Linked DNA regions of Homo sapiens: regions 1 and 2 are each linked to region 3. The links are contacts of gene promoters, found by promoter capture Hi-C in human tissues and cell types (Jung and others, 2019). All regions are on one chromosome and are shown on one strand. The core of a region is centred on a gene start or on the middle of the fragment in contact, and the rest is flanking DNA. Distances in the headings are between cores, read along the strand shown.

What was found. The method cuts DNA at HindIII sites, captures the fragments that hold promoters and counts their contacts. A contact is called where the count stands out against the background at its distance.
Region 1: a contact is called between a fragment that was not itself captured here and the fragment with the promoter of ATG14 in region 3, in 1 of the 25 tissues and cell types used here (lymphoblastoid cells).
Region 2: a fragment that was not itself captured here is called in contact with the fragment with the promoter of ATG14 in region 3 in 1 of the 25 tissues and cell types used here (spleen).

Annotation. Positions count from the first base shown.
Region 1 is chr14:54,824,738-54,827,996 of GRCh38, forward strand. No RefSeq gene overlaps it. Among named protein-coding and RNA genes, the nearest start is that of MIR4308, 52 kb to the right of the region's middle. The HindIII fragment of the contact is 5,372 bases long and covers 1-3,259 here.
Region 2 is chr14:54,887,836-54,890,940 of GRCh38, forward strand. The region is part of intron 1 of GCH1 (GTP cyclohydrolase 1); the gene reads right to left. Among named protein-coding and RNA genes, the nearest start is that of MIR4308, 11 kb to the left of the region's middle. RefSeq lists an enhancer at 2,879-3,105. The HindIII fragment of the contact is 7,404 bases long and covers 1-3,105 here.
Region 3 is chr14:55,409,754-55,413,151 of GRCh38, forward strand. ATG14 (autophagy related 14) reads right to left here and starts at 2,077. Exons shown (of 10, transcript NM_014924.5): 1 at 1,849-2,077. The coding sequence starts at 2,069. It also overlaps a transcript of FBXO34 not described here. RefSeq lists a silencer at 2,067-2,366. The HindIII fragment of the contact is 14,251 bases long and covers 1-3,398 here.

The sequences.
Region 1 (3,259 bases), core at 138-2,637, 590 kb before region 3:
AAATAACTATAACTAAAAATATGTTAAAGGAGTCATGATATGAATAGATGTAAACTGTAACAGCAATAACATGAAATGTGGGAGAGGAATTAAAAGTGTAGGATTTTTGTATGCAATTGAGTTTAAGTTGTTATCAGCTTAAGATATTCTAGATAAGCCCCCAGGAAATACCTATAGAAGTTACAAAAGAGAGAAAAGAATCAAATCATATTGTTTTAGTACCAGTTCTCCAGAGAAACAGGATGACATATGCATGCACACACACTCATATACATGTAATACACATTCATGTGTGTGTGTGTGTGTGTGTGTGTGTGTGTAGAGAGTGAGAGACTGAGATTGATTATGAGGAATTGCTTATGCAATAATGGAGGTTGAGAAGTCCCATAATCTGCCATATGGAAAATAGAAACCCTAGAGAGCCAGTGATATAATTCAGTCTGAGTCTGAAGACCTGAACACTGAAGATGTAAATCCCAGTTGAGGGATAAGGGATAAGCACACATTCAGGAAGCAAAAGAGGCAATTCCTCCTTTCATCTTTGTTATATTCAGGCCCTCAATGAGTTGGATGGTGCCCAACCACATTAGGGAGGAAAATCTACTTTACTAAATCAATTTTTGTTTGAGTGGGTCATGGGGTACCCAGGAAGGTGTAGGACTTCTTAAGCATTTCTTGTAGCCAGTCTTCTTCAAGGAAAAGTCTAAACTTGTGGTTTCGAGAGGAAGTAGAAATATTACTCAAAAAATGGAATGGGAACATTCATTCCTCCAGTAGCTTTGGCACTATCAGGTTAATGATTTCCTAAATCCAATGGCATTTCTATGGTATTTTCCTACCTACTTAGATGGGTTTTCTTACCAATATAATGCAAGCTCATTGTATAGAATTTGAAAAAGAGAGAAGGCAAATAAGAAAACTTACATGACTACTAAATAAATATTAAATAATAAATTTTCTTTTGTTTTCTTTTCTTTTCTTTTTCTTTTTTTTTTTTTTTTTTTTTTTTGAGATGGAGTCTAGCTCTGTCACCCAGGCTGGAATGCAGTGGCGCAATCTTGACTCACTGCAACCTCCACCTCTCGAGTTCAAGTGATTCTCCTGCCTCAGCCTCCCAAGTAGCTGGGATTACAGGCGCCCACCACCATGCCCAGCTAATTTTCGTATTTTTAGTAGAAAAGGGGTTTCACTGTATTAGCCAGGCTGGTCTCGAACTCCTGACCTCATGATCCCCCGACCTCAGCCTCCCAAAGTTCTGGGATTACAAGTGTGAGCCACCACACCTAGCCTAAAATAGTATTTTCTATTGCTCATGCATTTTGATGTTATTTGCTGCCATTGATCTTTGTTTGTTTGAGACAGAGGCTTGCTCTGTCGCCCAGGCTGGAGTGCAGTAGCACAATCTTGGCTCACTGCAACTTCCACCTCTTGGGTTCAAGTGATCCTCCTGCCTCAGCCTCCCGAGTAGCTGGGATTACAGGCACCCGCCACCACGCCCAGCTAATTTTTTGTATTTTTAGTAGAGATGGGGTTTCACCATGTTAGCCAGGCTGGTTTTGAACTCCTGACCTCAAGTGATTTGGCCTCCCAAAGTGCTAGGATTACAGGTATGAGCCACCATGCCCAGCCTGTTGCCATTGATATATATATATAATTTTATTATATACATACATAGTTTTATTATGTATATATAAATTATTTTTTATATATAATTATTTTATATATATATATAAAACAATGTATACACACACACACACACACACACACACAATTTTGTAATAAGCACCACCTAACATGGTGCCTGACAAAAGTAGTGGCTAAATAAATATTTTCTAAATAATAAGTGTTTTCACTAATAAATCATGAGTATTTTTTTGCATTTTAATGGCTGCGTAGTATTCATTCCTTCACATGGACATACCATGATTTATTCCAGTTGTTAGGTAAGTTATTTCAACTGTTAAATATTATGAACAATGCTAGAATAAACATTCTCATAGGTACATATGTGCACACACATCCACTTTGATTTACCCACATTCTCTTTCTGGAAACAACACTCTTGACATTGGGCACACCCATCTCTCATGGCTCCCCAAATTCTGATTGTGGGTGGTCTTTGGAGAGTTATCTTTTCTCCAATCTTCTCACTCTTCACTCTCTCCTTAGCTGACCTCAGCTCCAAGCACCATGTGTGTACTAACTGGTCTGCAGCTGACTTTCAGATCCCTGCCTCCAGCCCAGACCTCTCTCCTATGCACTGGCTAATTACTGGATGTCTCCACTTAGGTGTCCCACAGGGACCTCAAACAACATGTCTGAAACCGAAGGCTCCCCTGCTTACCTTACTCCCTCCAAGACCTCCCACATGACCATTTATCTCATTAACATTATCTCAGTGGTCAATGCTGCTGTGATTCCCAGACACCCAAGCTCCCAAACTGGGGACTGTCCTGGACCAATCTTCACCCAGTTGTAGACAAACCCTTCAGCTTCTCCCTCTTAAATCTCTCTGCTGTTCCCTTGTCTCAGCCTCCACTGCCACTGACCTAGTTTCAGCCTCATTATCCCCCCTGAATTAATACAATAGCCTCCTAAGCTGTCCATCCTCCAACTCTGATTACAACCCACAATCCCCTGCTTGACATCTTTCCACCAGCTTTTCGCAACTTCAATATCAGTTCTTGGGCAGGGCATGTCTGTGGTATGTCCTCTGCCTATCTCTTCGGTCTCTATCGCCACTACTCCCCTCTCCAACATGGGATCAACCTATAATAGAGCTTTTATTCAGTGTGCTTCAAATATTTGTTTACATTACATATATCTCTCCCTAGACTTGAGGACGGGGAAGTCTCACTCATATTTATACTCCAGCATGCAACACAGTTAAACCTAAGGAAACAAAGCCTTAACAAAGGCACTTGGAAGATCTGCGTTCTCCCCATCAATGGCAACTACTGGTGACAAGGAAGGAAGCTATGGGTGCTGTCTTCTAGGGAGTCTTCTCAGGGCAGGCAGGACCTCACTTCCAGGACTCACCTGGCCTGGTCACCTGTGGGTGGAGACAGGGCCTGACATTCATGAAATCTCCTTTATGTCCAACCCTTCAGAAGCTTCTTTTGATGCCAAGGGGCCCAACTCAGAGCCCACATCTCTATGTCTATGACCTCCTACATTATTTTTGTCTTGGTAATGAAATTTCCAACAATGTAATACTCACCGAAATAGAGCTTCATAGGGATGTTCCTATACTTAGACA
Region 2 (3,105 bases), core at 381-2,880, 520 kb before region 3:
TAATTTTGACTACTTTTATGTTTGAAGGTTTTACATAATAAAAAATTAAAGTTTACAAATACATGAGACTAACAGTGAATATTAGTTTTTTCGGTATTACTATTCTACCCAACCACTCCTTTTCTAGTTTATATGAAGCTTTATTAATAAACTAAAACTTCAAGCACTAGTAAAACTAACAACTGGTTATTATTTTGGTAGAAGCAACAACAACATTCTTGGGGGGAAAAGTCTTTAAATAAAGGCTCTGTCTAATCAAAGGAGCTACAGGTAGGAAGACCATAGATCCCAAGAACATTTAGATAAGAAACCTTTTCAAAAATCTGCATCATAAGAAAAAAGACAGAGACCTGTTACTATAGAAACGATTTGCAGGGCTTGAACATTTCCAGGGAAAACAGCACCTCTAGCAAGGAAAGGAGGCTGAAGAGCTTCCTAGGGCCTTGCCTGTCAGCTGCTGGAAGTCAACAGAGTGAGCGATGACAATTCTGACAGGCCCACCCATGCTCAGAGACCTCGGCATGACAATTTAACTCCTAGTCCTACTGCCTCTCCCTTCAGAACAGACCCAGAATAGTCAAGTGACTCACCTACCTAAGTTCATAAACCAGTTAGCATATTACTAGCCCAGGCTAGCTGTTCTTCCCATTACAGCAGCACAAAGCTTTGTTGACATACTAGTTTTTTTTTTTTTTGAGATGGAGTCTCACTCTGTCGCCCAGGCTGGAGTGCAGTGGCATGATCTCCGCTCACTGCAAGCTCTGCCTCCCGGGTTCACACCATTCACCTGCCTCAGCCTCCCGAGTAGCTGGGACTACAGGCGCCCACAACCACGCCCGGCTAATTTTTTTTTTTTTTTTTGTATTTTTAGTAGAGACAGGGTTTCAGCGTGTTAGCCAAGATGGTCTCGATCTCCTGACCTGGTGATCTGCCCACCTCAGCCTCCCAAAGTGCTGGGATTACAGGCATGAGCCACTGCACCCAGCCTATACAACTAGTTTAAGAAATACCAAGGAGATTTCAGAATTAGATCAGTGAACAGAATTTCCAACATGCTAAATATGAAGCTGAAAGATGTGCATCTACTTTTTATAAACTACTTCACTTATAAACAGCCCCAGCCCTCAAAAAGCTGTTTACTGTGGTGGAGGAGGGGTAGAAGGGGAGAAAGAGATGACACCAAAATGAAAGGACACGCAGCATGGGATAAGTATGGCCTCCGTGGAGGCAAAGCCTGACAGCACTAACAGCTGGAGGCTGTCAGCAAACTGTTCCTTGAAGCTGAAGGGCAGATTCTTTTTGATAGGCCATCAGAGAGGCATACCTCCAGGGCTGCCCATGTGATAAACGATAAATGGTGGGGTCAATTAGAGGGGTATGATCTACAGCAGCTATGCCTTAAAGTCAACTAGTCAGCGACCTCACTGAGTTAAGGCCTCTCATCTGATCTCCAGGCACGCATAGCCCTTCCTCACTGCTAACGAACACTGTACCACAAATGCCTAGACCACACAGGTAAAATTATATTTTAAGCTATTTTAGTGAGAGATTCCTTGTTTGGGATGTTTGCCAATGGCCTCTATTGAACTGAGTTCTGATTCCTGCTTAGGACAAATAAAAACTAATGTGTGATACATAAAACACATCACACTTCACAGGAAGAGCCATGGCCTCTTAGGACTGCACATCACAAACATTTGGACCAACTGGACCTCGAAAAATTCACCCAGAATTCAGTCACGGCCAATTTCCTCACCTAAACCTGGCTGCTTGTTCACAGAAGTCTCCATAAGCAACAGTTGTTGATAAGCAAGAGGCAGCAGCCACCTCCCCATGGTTGCCAACCAAAAACAAAAAGGACAGTAAAATAAATTACAGGAGGAGGGCAGATAATAAAGGCCAAACATTGCAAAAGAACAAACCTCAGGATCTTCACCTGGGTCTCCAGCTCCAGCAAGGAAATGAGACAGAGTGGTTTCTCAGATTAACTGTGCACTAAACTATGCACTAAACTAAAATACTAAATTGCCCTATATGAGGAAATGCGATGGAAGATAAGAAAAAAATGCCAAAAAATGTAGCAAGAGGCTACAACAGAACAAAACCTCACAGCAATGGTGAGGAAAGACAACAGAAAATCAATCAAGTGTTTTTTGCAAGGAAAAAACTTATTCAATTTTAGAAAAATCACTTTGGCATGAATGGATCAGAGCAGGACAAGCTAGGAGGCAAGAAGGCCAGTTAAGAGGTTATTGTAATTTAAGTGAAAGATGACTCAGATTCTAGAAATATTCAGGTGGTATATGTGTCAGAACTTTGTGAGCATGATTAGCCAAGGGGATTCACGAGAAAGAATAATTGCAGATAAAACAAATAACCAGGCCGGGAGCGGTGGCTTACGCCTGTAATCCCAGCACTTTGGGAGGCCGAGGTGGGCGGATCACCTGAGGTCAGGAGTTCGAGACCAGCCTGACCCACACGGAGAAACCCCATCTCTATTAAAAACACAAAATTAGCCAGGCTTGGTGGCGCATGCCTATAATCCCAGCTACTTGGGAAGGCTGAGGCAGGAGAATCGCTTGAACCTGGGAGGTGGAGGTTGCGGTGAGACGAGATCGCGCCATTGCACTCCAGCCTGGGCAACAAGAGCAAAACTCCATCTCAAAAAATAAATAAATAACCAGGTTACAAAGACTAGATGAAGTAGCAACATGTGTCAGGTTAAAATTCATTACAAGGGTTGACTATGGCCAGAATGAACTTTAAAGACATCAGATAAAGGAGCTGGCCCTAATGCCATTAATATTGATCTTTTAAAAGTTTAAAATAAATCTAATTGCCTTGAAAACTCCATTTAATTTTAACTCTGGTACAGGTAACTATGAATGTTAGTGTATGCCTTTTATTGAAAAACACTTAGACCATAATCTCTAAACCAGCATGGACACGTTCTGCAAAAAACAAACAACCCAAAAAAACTCAAAATGAATTTCCTTCTAGGTTCAACTCAAAAGCTACTTTCTCCATAACATCTGGACTTTCCTGTCTCTCCACCAGAAGCACCCAGCTTCCCTCTGACTACACAGAACCCCTTTACTCCTTGAA
Region 3 (3,398 bases), core at 827-3,326:
ATAGAACTTTGGTTAAGGACTCCAGCTTTTACTTTGGGTAAAGTGAAAAACCACTGGAAGATTTGAACAGAAATGGAGGAGTAGCATAACTGTGGCTGCAATATGGAAATTGTACAAAAGGGGAGCAAGGACGGAAGCAGAGACATAAGAGGAAATAAGTTTATGTCTCTGGTAGATTGGACCAGGTGATGGTGAAAGGGTAAGATTTAAGATAAGTTTTGAAGAGTAGATGGGATTTGTTGTAAGATAAGTTTTGAAGAGTAGATGGGATTTGTTGATGGGACTAAACAGAGTTGGGTTAAGAGAGGAGTCAAGGAGAACTGAAAGGTTTTTTAGCCTGAACCAAAGGAACAATGAGATTGACATTTACTGGGTTGGGATGAGCATGGGAAAACAGATTTATGATGGAAAACAAGGAGTTCAGTTTGCCATATTAAAATGAAGATATCTATTACAAATCTAAAAATATTGATGTTGAATAAGCAGCTGTTTTCTGGACTTTAGAGAAGACTAGGTTGGAGATACAAGTCTGGCAGTCTTAAGCATATAGATGGTATTTAAATTATGTGAATAGACATAGTAAAACGTGTAGACAGACAAGAAGGTCCAGAACCAAATCCTCGATTCACTCCATCAGTTAGACATTTCCATCTCATACCCCGTATTCTTATAACTGGTTTAATTTTTAAAGCTATCACTTACTACATAAGCAGTTTCTAAAGTCATCAAGAGCACCAATAAGACACAGCAACAAAACTAAAAAAGAGTTTGTCATTCAAACCTCCTCAAAAGAGAAAGGAAAGAACTCCATCCACGATCACAGAAATACTAAGAACTCAAAACATTCCCAAATATAGAGGATATAAAGTCTAGTGGTTAAGTGCGGGTACATAGGTCCAAGCTGTCTGAATTTTAATTCTTGTACCAACACTTAACTATTTGTGTGACCTGGGGCAAAGCACTTACTGTGCAGCTTCCTAATAAGTTGGGGATAAGTCATTCGGTTGTTGCGAATGAATTAATACCTGAATTTTTGTGCTCAGAATGCTAGCTATCTTACTATCATTGACTATCATTGACACTAAATTGTTGAAACATAAGTTGAGAGTGGGAGATCCTGCAGCTAATCACACTAATTTTTCAATTTTCTTAACCAAGAACTTGTAGCTGTTTAGATTTCGAAATGAAACCAAAACATTTTCCTAAAGGCAATTCTCTTAACTAAAAGCATGCAGCTCCCAATCTGAATTTTAAAACAAGGCCAAAACACGTTCCCAAATTCCTAAGAATCTAAAATAATCTTTAGAGGCAGGGAGGGGAAAGGGGCGTTAACAGCAAGCCTCAATTCACACATTAGAGTAAGCATGTCTGATAACAAAGTCCATCTGTGACAGACTACCAGGCCCAAATCCCTCTAAAGCAGTTATTTGATTCTCTTCTACTCTCTCCTCTAGAGAATGAGTATAAATATGCTTTCGAAAATAGAAAGCCAAGCTTTTGAATGGGAGTACATACAGCAAAGAGCTGGGAATCTAACTTAATGGCAGCAACGGGAAAACTTCTCCAGAGAGTCACCACTTATTCCTTTTTTCCCCAGTGACCAAGAGCACCGTGGGGTCAAACTCCTCTTGGGTGGGTGATGGGGAAACGGCGACCTTCCCTCATCTGGCCCCTACGCTGTCCTCTGGTAGCAAAGCTCCGGTGCAGAGCAGCTAGCTACACTCCCTCTCTCTCGCTCCTCTCGCTGGTATCTGGTGCCCGGACGGGGAGCCCCAGGTTCCAGCCTTCGGCTGCCTGGCTGGAGGACACACAGCAGAAGAAACAATAGGGCCGTGGCGGCCGCCGTACCTCTCCCGGTCGCGGCCGTCGAAGTAGACGAAATCGCCGCTCTGAACGCATTTGGCGCAGGTCAGCCGCCGGCGGGTAGTGTTGCACAGCGGGCAGCGCTCCACAGCCACGTACAGCCCCTCCGCATCGTCCACGGAGTCCACCAGGTCCCGGGCGAGCGGCCGGGGCCCGCAGCCAGGAGCCTCCAGCGCCCGGGCTCCCTTCCCACTGGGAGACGCCATGATGGCCTGAGAGGAGAGCCAGTCACGTGGGATTTTGTTTTCAACCGGGTGCATTCTGGGCCAGGAGGAGGGGCCTGGGGAAGGGGGGCTGGGATGCCGGCGAGCCCCCGGACCCCTCCGCCGCCGCGTGTTCCTGTCCCGGGCACTGTTGTTTTTCCGGTCTGCTGAGGGGCAACAGGTCCCGAAGCAGGGGGAGAGTTATATTAGAGGGGCTAGTCGGCCAAACAAAATGTCATCTGCTGGCTCAGGCCAAGACTACGAGTTAAAGCCTCAAACTTGTGCAGAAAATTGTAATACCATACCCTAAGGATTCTGGGAAAACGGAATGGGAGCGGAATAAGGGAATTTAACTTGCTGTGGATGCTTTAAAATCTGGCTAAACTACAGCAAACAAAGTAGGGTGAAGGGGCTGGGTCTTGGAACTAGGTTGAATTTTGGCTCACTCACCTGCTTAATAGCTGTGTGACTTGGGGCAAGTTCCTTAATCTCTCTGCGCCTGTTCTCTCGTGTTAAATGGATAGAATTATAGTACCCATCTAATGCCGTGAGGATTAATATGGTTAATAGTATTATACTTTACCAATAGTGAAAACAACCAAAGTGAACGTGCAAAATCAGAATTGTATCCTTCTGAAAAGTTAATCACGTGGCTAACGTACCTTCCCTACCCTGGGCCATGCTCTAAGAGAATTTGAACTAGGTAGATGGTTAGGACTTCCCTTCAAGTTTCTTTTGGTGGATAGGGGATATATAAGGTGATGTGTTGGGAGGATCATATCAGAGTAATTAGTGTTTGAATATGCCTCTAAACTACAGAGAAAAGTGAGTTTATAGGTGAGATTAAATAGACCAGTGATTCTCAAGGATGATTTTACTAGGCTATCTACTGATAAACTGCCCTGAATTCTCTCTCTAGCCAGGATTCCTTTCTCAAGTTCCATACCCAAAGATCCAGAACTACTTACTAGGTATCAGGTGACATTCCAGGACACCACAAACTCAAAGTGTTGGAAACTGACTTCTGCCTCCCTACAAACCTGTTTTCTTACTTTGGTAAAGGACGTAATCACTGATGATTTACAGCCAAGAGCCATGATTCATATTAGCCCGTCCCTCCCTGTTAATCTCCACATCACCATCGAAAACTGGTGATTCTACAAGCTAATTAGGTCTTGAATCTGAGCCCTTTGCTCCTCCGTCTTCTTAATCTTACCCAGTCTTTTTAAATACAAATCACGTAGGATTACAAAAACAAGCAAAAGCAAAAATTCTCTATATTCAGAATACAGTTTACACTAAACTTGAATGGTTCCTGAAAGTTTAAGATTT